5 separate regions of the Homo sapiens genome follow, and all the other regions are linked to region 3. Evidence: promoter capture Hi-C in 16 types of primary human blood cells and fetal thymus (Javierre and others, 2016). All regions are on one chromosome and are shown on one strand. The core of a region is centred on a gene start or on the middle of the fragment in contact, and the rest is flanking DNA. Distances in the headings are between cores, read along the strand shown.

The links. The method cuts DNA at HindIII sites, captures the fragments that hold promoters and counts their contacts. A CHiCAGO score of 5 or more calls a contact.
Region 1: a fragment that was not itself captured here is called in contact with the fragment with the promoter of ERP27 in region 3 in 1 of 17 cell types (neutrophils); the score reaches 5.0 in neutrophils.
Region 2: a contact is called between a fragment that was not itself captured here and the fragment with the promoter of ERP27 in region 3, in 2 of 17 cell types (non-activated CD4 T cells and total CD8 T cells). The highest score is 6.0, in non-activated CD4 T cells.
Region 4: a fragment that was not itself captured here is called in contact with the fragment with the promoter of ERP27 in region 3 in 1 of 17 cell types (activated CD4 T cells); the score reaches 5.3 in activated CD4 T cells.
Region 5: a contact is called between a fragment that was not itself captured here and the fragment with the promoter of ERP27 in region 3, in 1 of 17 cell types (neutrophils). The highest score is 5.4, in neutrophils.

The regions. Positions count from the first base shown.
Region 1 is chr12:14,633,817-14,636,516 of GRCh38, forward strand. The region is part of intron 19 of GUCY2C (guanylate cyclase 2C); the gene reads right to left. Among named protein-coding and RNA genes, the nearest start is that of GUCY2C-AS1, 30 kb to the right of the region's middle. The HindIII fragment of the contact is 2,774 bases long and covers 1-2,700 here.
Region 2 is chr12:15,217,520-15,220,219 of GRCh38, forward strand. RERG (RAS like estrogen regulated growth inhibitor) reads right to left here. Exons shown (of 5, transcript NM_032918.3): 2 at 1-84. Among named protein-coding and RNA genes, the nearest start is that of RERG, 2.5 kb to the right of the region's middle. The HindIII fragment of the contact is 1,201 bases long and covers 774-1,974 here.
Region 3 is chr12:14,937,187-14,939,886 of GRCh38, forward strand. ERP27 (endoplasmic reticulum protein 27) reads right to left here and starts at 1,351. Exons shown (of 7, transcript NM_152321.4): 1 at 1,229-1,351; 2 at 766-866. The coding sequence starts at 1,322. RefSeq lists an enhancer at 807-866. The HindIII fragment of the contact is 1,334 bases long and covers 1,123-2,456 here.
Region 4 is chr12:14,459,217-14,461,916 of GRCh38, forward strand. It overlaps ATF7IP (activating transcription factor 7 interacting protein), which reads left to right. Exons shown (of 15, transcript NM_018179.5): 9 at 1,279-1,917. Among named protein-coding and RNA genes, the nearest start is that of PLBD1-AS2, 70 kb to the right of the region's middle. The HindIII fragment of the contact is 4,741 bases long and covers 1-2,700 here.
Region 5 is chr12:14,503,292-14,505,991 of GRCh38, forward strand. It overlaps PLBD1 (phospholipase B domain containing 1), which reads right to left. Exons shown (of 11, transcript NM_024829.6): 11 at 370-663. The coding sequence ends at 481. Among named protein-coding and RNA genes, the nearest start is that of PLBD1-AS2, 25 kb to the right of the region's middle. RefSeq lists an enhancer at 2,191-2,700. The HindIII fragment of the contact is 417 bases long and covers 1,230-1,646 here.

The DNA.
Region 1 (2,700 bases), core at 103-2,602, 300 kb before region 3:
TCAGAACTTGAAGACAGGTCTTTTGAAATAATCCAATAAGACAAAAATAAAGAAAAAAGAACAAAAATGAATGAGCAAAGCCTACATGATATAGACACCATAAAGTGGCTAAATACTTAAAATTTTTGGTGTCCCAAAAGGCGAAGAGAAAACAAAAGGAATACAAAACCCATTTAACAAAATAATAGCAAGAGATTTAGACATTCAGATACAGGAAACTCAGAGATCCCCAAATACATATAATTAAAAAAGATCTTCTCCGTGGCACATTATAGTCAAATTGTCAAAAGTTAAAGAGAAAATTCTAAAAATAGCAAGAAAAAAGCATCTGGTTACTTATAAGGAAACCCCCATCAGATTAACAGTGAATTTCTCAGCAGAAACATTACAGGCCAGGAGAAAAGGGATGAGGTAGTCAAAGTGCTGAAAGAAAAACCAAATTCCAGTTAAGGATACTATATCCAGCAAACTTATCTTTCATAAATGAAGAAGAAATAAAGGCTGTCCCAGGCAAGTGAATGCTAGGGAAATTCATCACCCCTAGACCTCCCCTACAAGAAATGCTTCAGGGCGTCCTACGCCTGGAAGTGAAAGGATGTCATCTACCACCATGAAAACACATGAAAGTATGAAACCCACTAGTAAAGCAATCACACAAAGAGGGAAGAGAAGGGTCTCAAAGGTTACCACTGCAGAAAACCACAAACCATAATGAAAAACAAGGGAAAGAAAGGAACAAAGGATGTATAAACAACCAGAAATCAATTAATCAAATGAAAGGAATAAGCCCTTACATAATAATAACTTTGAATGTAAATGGATCAAAATTTTTCACTTAAAAGATATAGACTGGTTCAATGGATTTTTAAAAATGACCCAACTGTAGGCTGCCTACAAGAAACTCATCTTATCTGTAAAGAAATATGTAGACTGAAAGTAAAGGGATGGAAAGATATTCCATGCAAATGAAAACCAAAAGCAAGCAAGAGTAGCTATACTTATATTAGGTAAAACAGACTTTAAGTAAAAAACTGTAAAAAGAGACAAAGGTCATAGGTCATTATATAATGATAAAGGACTCAATTCAGCAAGAGGATATAACAATTCTAAACATATACACACCCAACATTGAAGCATACAGACATTTAAAGCAAATACTATTAGATCTAAAGGAAGAAGTAGATTCCAATCTAATAATAGTTGGGGACTTCAACACTCCACTCTCAGCATTAAACAGATCATAAAGACAGAAAATTAACCAAGAAACATTGGATTTAAACTGCACGTTAGAACAAGTGAACCTAACATTTACAGAACATTTCATTCAATAGCTAAAGAATAAACATTCCTGTGATCAGCACATGGAACATTCTCCAGGATAGACCATATGTTACGACACAAAACCAGTCTCAACATATTTATAAAGAACCAGAATTATATCAAATATCTTCTCAGGCCACAATGGAATAAAAGTAGAACTCAATACCAGGAGGAACTTTGGAAACTACACAAATACATAAAAACTAAACAACATGCTTCTGAATAACCATTGAGTCGATAAAGAAATTAGGAGAAATTATAAAAAATTAAAACAAATGAAAATTTAAACACAGCATACCACAACTTATGGGATACAGCGAAAGTACTGCTAAGAGAGTAGTTTATAGGAATAAATGCCTGCATCAAAAAATCAGAAAAAATTCAAATCTAACAAGGCACCTCAAGGAATTAGAAAAGCAAGAATAAACCAAACCCAAAGTTCGTAGAGGGAAAGAAATAATAAAGGTCAGAGTAGAACTAGACAAAATAGAGGTTGAAAAAATAATACAAAGGATCATTGAAATAAAAAGTTGTTTTTATGAAAAGGTAAACAAAGTCAATAAACCATTAGCTAGACTAACCAAGAAAAAAATGAGAGAAGATCCAAATAAACAAAATCAGAAATTAGAAAAAGACATAAAAACCAATTGCACAAAAATGTGAAAGATTATCAGAGACTATTATGAACAACTATATACCAGCAAACTGAAAAATATAGAGGAAGTGGAGAAATTCCTGGATAAATGCAATCTACATAGATTGAATCAGAAAAAAATAGAATACCATAGAATACATGAACAGACCAACAATGAGTAATGAGACTGAATCACTAGTCTCCCAACAAAGAAAAGTCCAGAACTGGATGACTTTACTGCTGAATTATGCCAAACTTCCAAAGAAGAACTAACACTAATTCTCTTCAAACTATTCAAAAAAATTGAATAGGGAATTCTCCTTCATTCTACAAGGCCAGCAGTACCCTCATACCAAAACCAGACAAGGATACAACAAAAAAGGAAAACTATGGGTCAATATCCCTGAGGAACATAGATGCAAAAATCCTCCAAGAAAAAAAATACTAGCAAACTGAATCTAACAGTACATCAAAAAGATAATACGCCATGATCAAGTGGGATTTATCCCCAGGAAGCAAGGATGATTTAACATATGCAAATCAATAAACATGATACATTACGTCAACAGAATGAAGAACAAAAGCCATATGATCATCTCAATCGATGCAGAAAAAGCATTTGATAATATTCAACATCTCTTCTTGATAAAAACTCTCAAAAAACTAGCCATAGAAGGAATATATCTCAACATAATAAAGGCCAGCCATATATCACACACCCACAAAATAATAAAAGCCATATACTA
Region 2 (2,700 bases), core at 124-2,623, 280 kb after region 3:
TAAAACTAAAGCACTGAGTAAATCTTTTTGGTTCCAGTCTTTGGATTCACCATATCATTGTGAATCTTGGAAGAGTCCACAATCCTTAAACAAAAGAAATTTGGGAATTCATAAGTGACTGGAAAATGAATTAATATTTATTGAGCATCTACTATATGCCAGCCACCATTCACTTTTTCAACATTTTCTGGTTTGATCTTTACCACTATCCTGTGAGAAGTCTATGGTAACTTACTGTAAATGATTTAACTAATAAATGGTAGATTCAGGACTTGGATTTGGATCTGGTTGGTACTAAAACGTGCATTATCACACACAATAGCATTTCTAAAGTACTTCCTCAAGAAATTTTCTTATGAAGGTATTGATTCTTGATAGTAACTGAAAGTAAAAGTGAATACACACATTTACCATCTATCTGTAAGCATTCAGTGTACAAACACATGCAGTGGGGCAATGGAGAGAGTCACTTTTGGGCCTCTTCATGTCTCTTTGGGTTGAATAACATACATTCATATTAGTCAACTCCAATGCAACACAATTCAATTTTGCATCTCAAAGTTAAATTTTTTCTCAATTCACACTTGATCACATGATGAATTCCTGTGACAGATACAGATACACATGTTCTAGGAATCAATATATAATACATAGATTACATTTCTATATTTTGCTGGACACAATGCCCTGGTACAAAAACGATAAATGCCATGCTCCAAGTTATTCCTTTTCTATGATGACTTCAAGTAAATTTGTTTATAGTGCTGTCTTAAAGCTTGGGAAATAACATTATGTACAAAGTAAGCACATCTTATTTAGTTTGGTGCTTTAGGAGTGACATCTAGGTTCTTAGGATCATGGAAACGTAAATTTGGAAAGAGCTTTGGTGGTGGTGGGGGCTGGAGTGGGGGTCATCTGAAGAAATCTTCTAGCCATTCTTCTAGCAAGAATCTTTCCTTAGGACATAACAATCATTCCATATTCCATGCCTGACTTACCACTTCCAGGTATGAAAGGTGGGCTCATTACTTCTGAAAGCTGCTTCATTTCTCCAATTAGGAGGAACTATCTTTCTAATATTGAGCTCTAAACTGTCTCCCTGCGGCTTCTACTCATTTGTCCTCATTTCTCTCTATGAAATAACTCAAAACAAGTCAACTTTTTCTTTCACTCAGAACCGTTCAAGGATCCTAGCATCTAGTAGGACCCTTTGCTCCATCCTAGGCTTCTTTTTTCTAGGAACATGAGGCCCAGCCTGTCCACTTGTTCTTCCCGGAATGTACACTCTCGTTTATGTTTTTTTGACCTTCACTCCCTTTTTCATCATGTGCATTGCCTCCTCAACATCTTAATCACTCTAAAAGCATGGTGTCCACTGCATTCCACTTTGAGATATGACCTGACAAACTGACCCGGTGTAAATTCCCTGAGATTTTCACTATCGTTAATCTGCCCACCATGGTTATACTGTAGCACAGCCAATCACATTAAGCCTCACATCTTTTACACGGACTGCAGACCCCCTCATTCCGAACATTTGCAATCAATGGCTTAAACCTAAATACAGCACAGCACTTTTACCCGTGTTAATCTTAATCACACCAGTCTGCATAATTCATTCCATTTTCAAGGCAGTAAAGATGTTTTAAACACAAATATGTTATCTAAATGTGTTAAATGTTCCTGCCAGATTTTTCCATCTATAAATTTTTACAAAGAGCTTCTTGAGAGAGAAATTAAAAAGTGAAAATCCGCCTGAAAAAGTATTTCTACAAAGACATTATCATGTAATTGTTTTCTTCCTTAGGTATTTAAGCTATCATCCTGTACCTAATAAGGTTTTGTATTTGCTGATTTTCAAAGTGCCAGAGCTTCCTCTGAAGGAAGGAAAAATCAACATTAACATTAGCTATTGTTTACTTCATCCTCAATAATGACAAAGTGTCTAAGTAATCATTATTAGCAAAAACCAGAAGCTTAAACATCTGCAATTTGTCCAGTCCCATATTTTTGGCTAAAGATAAAAAGATTTCCTTATTTGTCACTTTAGATGCATTCATTAAGAAAAGGCCCTATGTTTTTAAGGTTCAGGGCTTCATCACAGAAACATAATATGTGGAGATATATTAACTATTTAAATTATAAATGAGAAGAGGTGCTGGCAAGTATTTCTTTGAAACATTGAACACGCAAGTGTCTGCAGCTAGTATAAACAATAATTTTGTTTCATGCAAAACTGTTCATATACATGGATATAAAATGCAAGTAATTATCTGTCTGATTAATGTTTCATGAAAGTAGCCATCAAATGTGATTTTAAAAAAATGACAAGTCACATTTTTTAGTAACTCCCAAATGGCCCCAGAGGCATAGGAATTTCACATAAGAAAGAGAAATTGTGTGGGCTATTTTTTCCATTTATAACCTAATAAAGATACAGCTGGTTATTGTCAACCTAATTTTATGTTTAGAAAAATCACTTAAAGGAAGACACAAAACTGACAGGAGTTCTTCAACATTTTATTTCTCACATGAAAATGTGAAAAGTTACATTTGACAAGATAGAAAACAAAAATAAATATGTAAATTGTTGTAATAAGTAAACTGTTGCCAAGTTTCTGATGTTCCAAATAATTCATAATCTGAGAGCTTCCATACGTGGATCTAAGAAAATCCATTTGTCCTAATGTTCTGCTGAAA
Region 3 (2,700 bases), core at 101-2,600:
ATTGCAGTGATTTCCAACTGTGTACGCAGAACTGACAGGGTAATCAGGAGTTGTAACTGAGAAATGGAAACAGACAAGAAGGTCTGCTATGAGAGAGTAGGGGCTTGATCAGCTGTGAGGATTTCCAGATGCTACCACCAGAGAAAGATGAAAATGCTGGAATGAGGCAGTCTCATTTATGGCTGCCTTTCTTAGTCAAGAAGCTAATCTGGAAGATGGAGGTTAACACCTTGAATATACAAAATGCCATCATTTTCCAACATTTCAGACAAGGCAAAGAGAAAGAAGGAGAGTCTACCATATTTGGGGGAAAGGCTTTAAAAGGCTGTGCACTGACTAATGTCCAGGATGTTTGGCATCCTGTAAACAGTGTTGCTGGATGATATAAATTGGGTTCACTCTGGCCCCTGCCTATTCATAGGGTGCTATGAGAGTATAGACCAAATGTGTTTAGGACAATGGTGGGGTTCCATGAAGGCATTCTTTCTGCAGATACTGACTTGAGCTTCAAAGCATCCATAGATGAGGAGATGCAGCCCACAGGCTCAGAACTCTTGAAGTAAGTATGAGAAAGATATAATTTAGAGACTGGGAATGTCTTGAAAATAAGAGGTCCCAATGGACAAGATGAAATCAAACTGGGTGGCTGTCTCCCTTTACCCCCACTTCTAATGCAGTGCCATCTGCCAGCAGCAGGTGGCTGCTGTGGTTCCCTTAAGGTAGAACATTTCTGGCTCTTGGGGGAATTGCAAGTAGGGAACTAACCTGGAAGAAGCCTATGACAGCCACCTCAGTGGCAGCAATGAATTCCATGGCAGCTGGGACATCTGTGAGCCACGTGGGTTCCTGGGCAGCACCAGGACCATCTAGAGAGAGAAGCAGAAGATGTCAGGGTACTGAGGCAAGAAGAAGCAGCTCTAAATAATGAGGGCATCTATACCTTTTATCTCTATACTAAGGGCAAGAAGAGCACAATTTATAGGAGTACTGTTGGCATTCCAAGGCATAATATTTTTACTAACATATGGAAGGTGACCCTACTGATGGTCTGTCTCTGAAGGATACTGCCAGACTTCCCTACTCTCTACCAGGCAAAATGCACTTATCCAGGATTTCCTGGAAAGCTTTCTAGGTGTGGAGGAAAAGTACCCAGAGAACCACCATGCTCCCTTTCCTTCTCCTAATAACACTTTCACACTATAGCCACCCAACTACATTTTTCTTTTACCTGAGGATTTCTCAACTTCTGCAGCAACTTCTGCAGCCAGCTCACACGTGAGGAGAAATAAGAGGAACATGAACCTGGACGGGGCAGCTTCCATTGTCCCTCTCCTGCTCCTGCTCCAACCCTGGACTTTGTGTTGGGGAGGCCGACTCAGGGCAGCCTACTCTGTAGCTGATTGGCTGTGGGGTTGTTAGGGCTTTGGGAACTTTGCAGCTGGCTCCAGGGGAGCCTTCAACTTCTGAGATAAAAGACCAAGGTTAGTAATAGGGACTCAGAACATATCCAACCAGAAGAAAGTCAGGTCAGTTTATTTAAATAAAAAATGTAAATATGCTATGCCAGGCATTGATCCTAGCGCTAAGAATAGAAAGATAATTATGATCTGATCCAGCCTCTGCCAGCTTAGATTATCAGTGGGAGAGATGGGCAAGTAAAAAGATTATTTAAATATAAGATGGAAAGTGATATAGAAAAATTCATAGGGTGCTATGACAATACATATTAAGGGTATTAGGGACAATGCTAGGGTTCAATGAAAGTGTTCTTCCTGCGGAGGATGCCGGAGCAGAGTTCTGGGTAAGTAAGATTTTGCCAGGCAACACAAGGTAGAAAGGGAGTTTCATGTAAAGAACTAAAGCACAGGCCGGGCGTGGTGGCTCATACCTGTAATCCCAGAACTTTGGGAGGCTGAGGCAGGTGGATCACGAGGTCAGGAGATTGAGACCATCCTGGCTAACATGGTGAAACCCCATCTCTACTAAAAATACAAAAAATTAGCCAGGTGTGGTGGCGGGCGCCTGTAGTCCCAGCTACTCGGGAGGCTGAGGCAGGAGGATGGCCTGAACCCGGGAGGCAGAGCTTGCAGTGAGCCGAAATAGCACCACTGCACTCCAGCCTGGGCGACAGAGCGAGACTCCGTCTCAAAAAAAAAAAAAAAAAAAAAAAAGAACCAAAGCACAGATATGCAAATATAATGTGTGACAGAATTACTAGTAATTGAGAATGATGAAAAGGAAGGAAGTGATACATGTGGACAGAAAGGCATGTTGGGACCAGCTCACAGCAGGCTTTATATGATACACTAAGCGCGGGAGCATCAATTTTATTCTGTAGGTGATGGGAACCACTGAAAAGTCTTAAGCAGAAGAATGAGATGAAGTTTGATTTTGCTCACAAGTGTCTGAGGAAGTCCAAGATGAGATTTCCACAGGCATTGGGATATGTAGTTTTAAGCTTAGGAGAATTTTCATGTGAAAATATTACAAAAGAAATTAGGAAGCCCTAGCCAGGGCAATTAGGCAAGAGGAAGACATAAAAGGCATCTAAACAGGAAAAGAAAAAGTCAAACTATTTCTCCTTGTTGACAATATGATTGTATGCCTAGAAAGCTCTGAAGACTCTGCCAAAAGGCTACTGGAACTGATGAATGATTTCAGTAAGGTATCAGGAAAAAAATAAGTGTACAAAAATTAGTG
Region 4 (2,700 bases), core at 104-2,603, 480 kb before region 3:
CATTCAAGTAAAAATAGTGTTTCATGGGAAAGACTGCTAGTTGAGTTTACAGCTCAATTGCACAAGCATTTTTCCTTAACTATCCTACTTTGGCACGCAGTAGTTGTCTTATATGTACTGCCTATTTCTTCACATGGAATATTAAGAAAAGAACCCCTATTCAAAGGTTGAGATATAATAAAGTTAATAGTTTTTACCGCTGTATCATGGGGATTCTTAAGTAAAACTGACTTTGTTTTTTACTGTAAGCATGTGATGAAGAATGCAGCGATGTTTGGTCCCATTATACTACCTTGATTTTTGTACTAAAGCATCAGAAGTTTTACTTAGCATTGCTTTTGCTCCATTGGTGCTAATGTCTGCTTATTTAAACAGTCAAATAATGTCTCATTGTTATGAAAATAGTTTTGACATTGCAAACTCCCTGAAAGGGTCTCAGAAAACCCCAGGCACCCCGCTGGACCACACTTTGAGAAACTGCTGCTCTAGTGAACCTGTTATTTTTGGAAAGACTATAAATCAATGAGAAAGAAGTTTGGTCATGTATTTTAAACCTGTTGCAATGAGAATAAACACAAGTAGTTGAAAATTATTATAAAACTAGTGACCAGCATTTGTATTTTCTCTGTTCTTCTGTATATGCTACCTCATTTCTTCTTAATTCATCTGTCATCTTCGCTCAGTGCTGTTTTCCATATCATACAATGTCAGTAGGGTGTCAGTAGAGGGAATCTCCCCTCAATAGTTCCTCTCCCAAGGAATTCAATCAAACTTGATCCAAAGATACAGACATGGTTCAAATAATAAAATACGATGAGTAAGCCTACCTGTTATTCATTAATGGTCATGACTCTTTTTAGATTTACTATTTGAGTTTATATATTACTTGTGTTGTAAGGCATTTATAATGTTTTTAATGTAGTTTCAAAAATATATATTTTTACTTAACTTTTTAGTATTTTTTATTTGTTTACTAGTTAGGTACTCTAAAGTGATTATAGTAATTTTCAGAGACCGTTTTGATCCTCAGTAGTCTTGCATATTAATCATCGATCATGTGCTGTTTTTGTAATTTACTAAAACTACATGCAAAATGCTTCTATGAATTTAATTCTAAATTAAATTTTGGAATTTAAATCTGGAAAAAAATTTCATGATAAAAGACTTTACAGTCTTTGCAATGTATTACGCAATGTATTTAATTTGTGTCTGTCATATTTTCTTAGTTGATAAATTAATATAACCATTTAAACTGAGGCTTCTGTTTTCTTTCTATAGTATCTTCAACCAATCTTGTCACTCCTCCAGCAGTTGTCAGTAGTCAACCTAAATTGCAGACTCCAGTGACTTCGGGTTCCCTCACAGCAACGTCAGTTCTTCCTGCACCCAATACAGCTACTGTAGTTGCTACTACTCAGGTGCCTAGTGGAAATCCCCAGCCTACAATCTCTTTACAGCCTTTGCCAGTGATTTTGCATGTACCTGTTGCAGTATCCTCCCAGCCTCAGCTTCTACAGAGCCATCCAGGGACTTTGGTGACTAATCAACCATCTGGCAATGTTGAATTCATTTCTGTGCAAAGCCCACCTACAGTGAGTGGTCTTACCAAAAATCCAGTATCCTTGCCATCCTTGCCAAATCCCACTAAACCAAACAACGTTCCTTCTGTGCCCAGTCCTAGTATTCAAAGGAACCCTACTGCCAGTGCTGCACCATTGGGAACAACACTTGCTGTGCAGGCTGTTCCAACAGCACACTCTATTGTACAAGCCACAAGGACTTCTTTACCCACAGTGGGCCCATCAGGACTCTATAGTCCATCAACTAATCGAGGTCCTATACAGATGAAAATTCCAATTTCTGCATTTAGTACTTCGTCTGCTGCAGAACAGAACAGCAATACCACCCCAAGAATTGGTAAGTCACCATGTAGGTTTAATACTAGAAATGCAAGCATCTTAATAGCCTTGTAATGATTGAACTTTTTTTTTCTAAGTGGCTAGCGTTATTGGAAGTACAAAATAAATAGAATTTTCTTGATTATTTTTAGTAATTTTTTAGATACCTGAGAGAAATGATGTTGCTAAAATGGGGCTTGAGAGGGGTTTTATTTTGAATTAGAAGTTAGTATCTGTGTTTTATCTTTTAGTAATTTTCCTAAGTTTGGTGAATTTTTAATTTATGGCTTTGTGGCAAGCATTATGAGTTACTTTTATGATACATTTGCCAGCAATATCGTTTAAAACATTTTAAAGTATCAAATTTACATAATATATGCTTTTAAGAAAAAAAGACACGTTTATGTTCCTTACCCATTTGGAAAATCCTTTGTGCACTCACTCATAGCTTCCAAATTTGAACAACTTAAAAATAAGTTTTTCTTTCACATTTGCTATAAAATGTTTGAGTCCTTCTTGTTTTATCTTTTCCGTGTTTTCCCATATGACATATTATATGATTGTTTGTATTTTACTTAGAAATATTGCAAAAAGGAGCACTTGATTATACCTGTTTAAAATCTGCCAAACTCTGTGTCTTCCTAGTTCCTAGAAAGAGTTTGTTTTGTATGCATTCTTGAACTTGCTTATTCTTCATTTCTGACTTCACATTTATGTGCACTACTTTTGGAAAGTCATGCAAGGGTAGGCATCATGTGTCTAGTAAAATTGCTACAGTATTTTTCTTATTGATGTTGTAAGT
Region 5 (2,700 bases), core at 188-2,687, 430 kb before region 3:
AACGAAGCTCCAGCATCCCCTAGGGTTTTGTCATTAGGCATATTCATCCAGGGAAAGGGGAAAGAGCATAGGAGGAGTACAGATTCTTATGGGCGAGGCCTGGAAGTGGCACTCGTCTCAGGTTCCAATGGCTAGAATTGTCATGTGGCACAACTATCTGAGGGACACTGGGAGATGTGGTCTGTGTGAGCAGGCGTGAAAGGAGAACATGAATTCTGGTGAATGAAGGAGCTGTTTCTTCCATACCCTCTTGTGTATTAGCATGTATGCCGAAGCTTAGTGTTATTTATATATATATGTAACATTTCTTCTACAGTGCTCTACCTTATAGTGAGTGCTTACTGTAAAAACAACAAAGTCAGTGGGAAATGAAAGTGACAAATTAATATATTTTATTGCATAATTCTGATGGGAAAAACATAGCTAAAATAGTGCCTTTGGTATCTTATTTACAGTCTTCTAGTCCGTCATCTCCCTCCTTCATTTTATATCAAGTTTCAAAATTGGTTTCATGGTAATAAAATCAAAGTTGTAGACCTCTGGCATGCCCTGATGTAGAGTTTTGTTGAAACGGTCCCAGCGAAAAACAGGGAGGCCACCTTGTACTGTGGGACCACTTATGGCATAGGATGTGTACTGAGATGCTAGGTAGATATCTGCCACCTGGAAAGAGGGAGGAGGAGGACATTTTAGAAAATCATCGTTCAGCAAAAAATTAAATCCATGGCCTTCCCCACTCTCCCACTACCAAAGTCACAATATTAGCTTTTTTTTTGAGTCGGAGTTTCGCTCTTGTTGCCCAGACTGGAGTACAGTGGCACAATCTCAGCTCATTGCAACCTCTGCCTCCCAGGTTCAAGCAATTCTCCTGCCTCAGCCTCCCAAGTAGCTAGGATTACGTGGATGGGCCACCACACCCAGGTAATTTTTATATTTTTAGTAGAGATGGGGTTTTGCCTTGTTGGCCAAACTGGTCTCGAACTCCTGATCTCAGGTGATCCGCCCGCCTCAGCCTCCCAAAGTGCTGGGATTACAGGCATGAGCCACCGCGCCAGGCCGCCTTCTTTAAAACAAAATTTTCTTGCCATTTTTCACATTGTCTTTATATGATACAGTCTTCTGTATACATTTGGCTTAAATGTCAGTTGACTAGAAGTGTGTGAAATGAACAATGTAGCCAAAAGTGAGATATGAAGTCAGATTACTCATATTCAGAATTCTAGCTCCAAAGCTTATTTAAAAATCACTTAACCCCTCTATGAATCAGTGTTCTCCTTTGTAAAATGGGCTGATAACCCTACTTCATAGAGTTGGCATGAGGATTAATGCAAGCAATGCTCAAAGTAATGCCTAGAATAGATGAAGTTCTTAGAAAAAGTTGTTATTAATCAGGGTGGTAACAAGAGTCTGAAAGTAGATAGAGCTCACTGTCAAAAATTGAGGGCCGTGGTTCTCAAAAACACCTAACAACTGGCTAGCAGTGGGTCTTAATCTTAGAGGGGAAAGAGAATCTCTTCTTCTTTTCCCCATATTCAAAATGACTCTAAAGAGATAAATTACATTTTTAAAGAATATCCTTCAACAGAAACTTTCTGATAAGAACAATTGCAGGCCTCTGTCTCCAGAAGTGAGATTTGGTAGAGGGAAGCTTGGCTTGAGTTCTCCCAGGCAAGGCAGCAGAGGTGATTTTCTTTGTGTATTCTGTGATAGATACAAACTTCACACATTGACTGAATGTTTGCAAATGCCATTTTAAAAAAGGAATACAAAAACATTCATTGGGGTTTCATCTGTGCCAGCTTCTCTACGTCTACCTTTTTTTTTTTTTTTTTTAATGTTAACATTGAGAGTCATTACGGCTAAAGCTTTGCCTTCATCACATAGCTAAAAAGAAGGTTGAGCTGGAACTTAGGATACTTTAAAGCATTTCCTGTTTAGGTATTAGGCTGATAGAGAATCATGTGCAACTGGGGTCAGCATTCCTATAATTTTTTGAGCCAAAGACAGAATACACACTTTACCCTGACAGGTTTCTTCCAGAATTTAGGACAGCTGATGAAATGAAAAGACACACACCCAAGCCAAGAGTGCAAAAGGATGTAGTAGCATGATTCCACCAACCAAATGCCTCATACCCTCAGACGTCCCAAATCCAGTGGTGAGCAGGTAAATTTTTAACAACAATCTTTCTTTGTGAGGAAAAAAGTTCCTGATTTCCATAATGTAAATACTTTCACTGACTGGTTTGAAGCCATCAACACGTCAACTAACAATTGGTTCCTGCATGTCTATAAGCTGGCTTTAGCACACCACTGCAAACCTACTTATTACTTATATTTTCAGATACATTACAGCACTTATCAATTCTAACATTGTGAAAAACTGCTGTGCTTTAGGCATCTTGTCCAAACTTGCTCCTTCAGCTAAATTTGACTCATGTTTAACATGGAATCGCACTGCTTGAATAATATGTTCTTTGGACTTTGGGCCAGTCTGGTAAAACATAAGACAACAATAACATCATTATGGTTGTATACATTTACAAATAACTCACTAAGTGCTGTTGTAAACATTTTACAGAGATTAAAGCCTTATTCTTCAGAACAACATATGAGGTAAGTACTGTTATATCCATTTTACAGATGAGGAAACAGAAACATGACGGAATTATGTGATTTACTACTAAATGGCAGAGCAGGG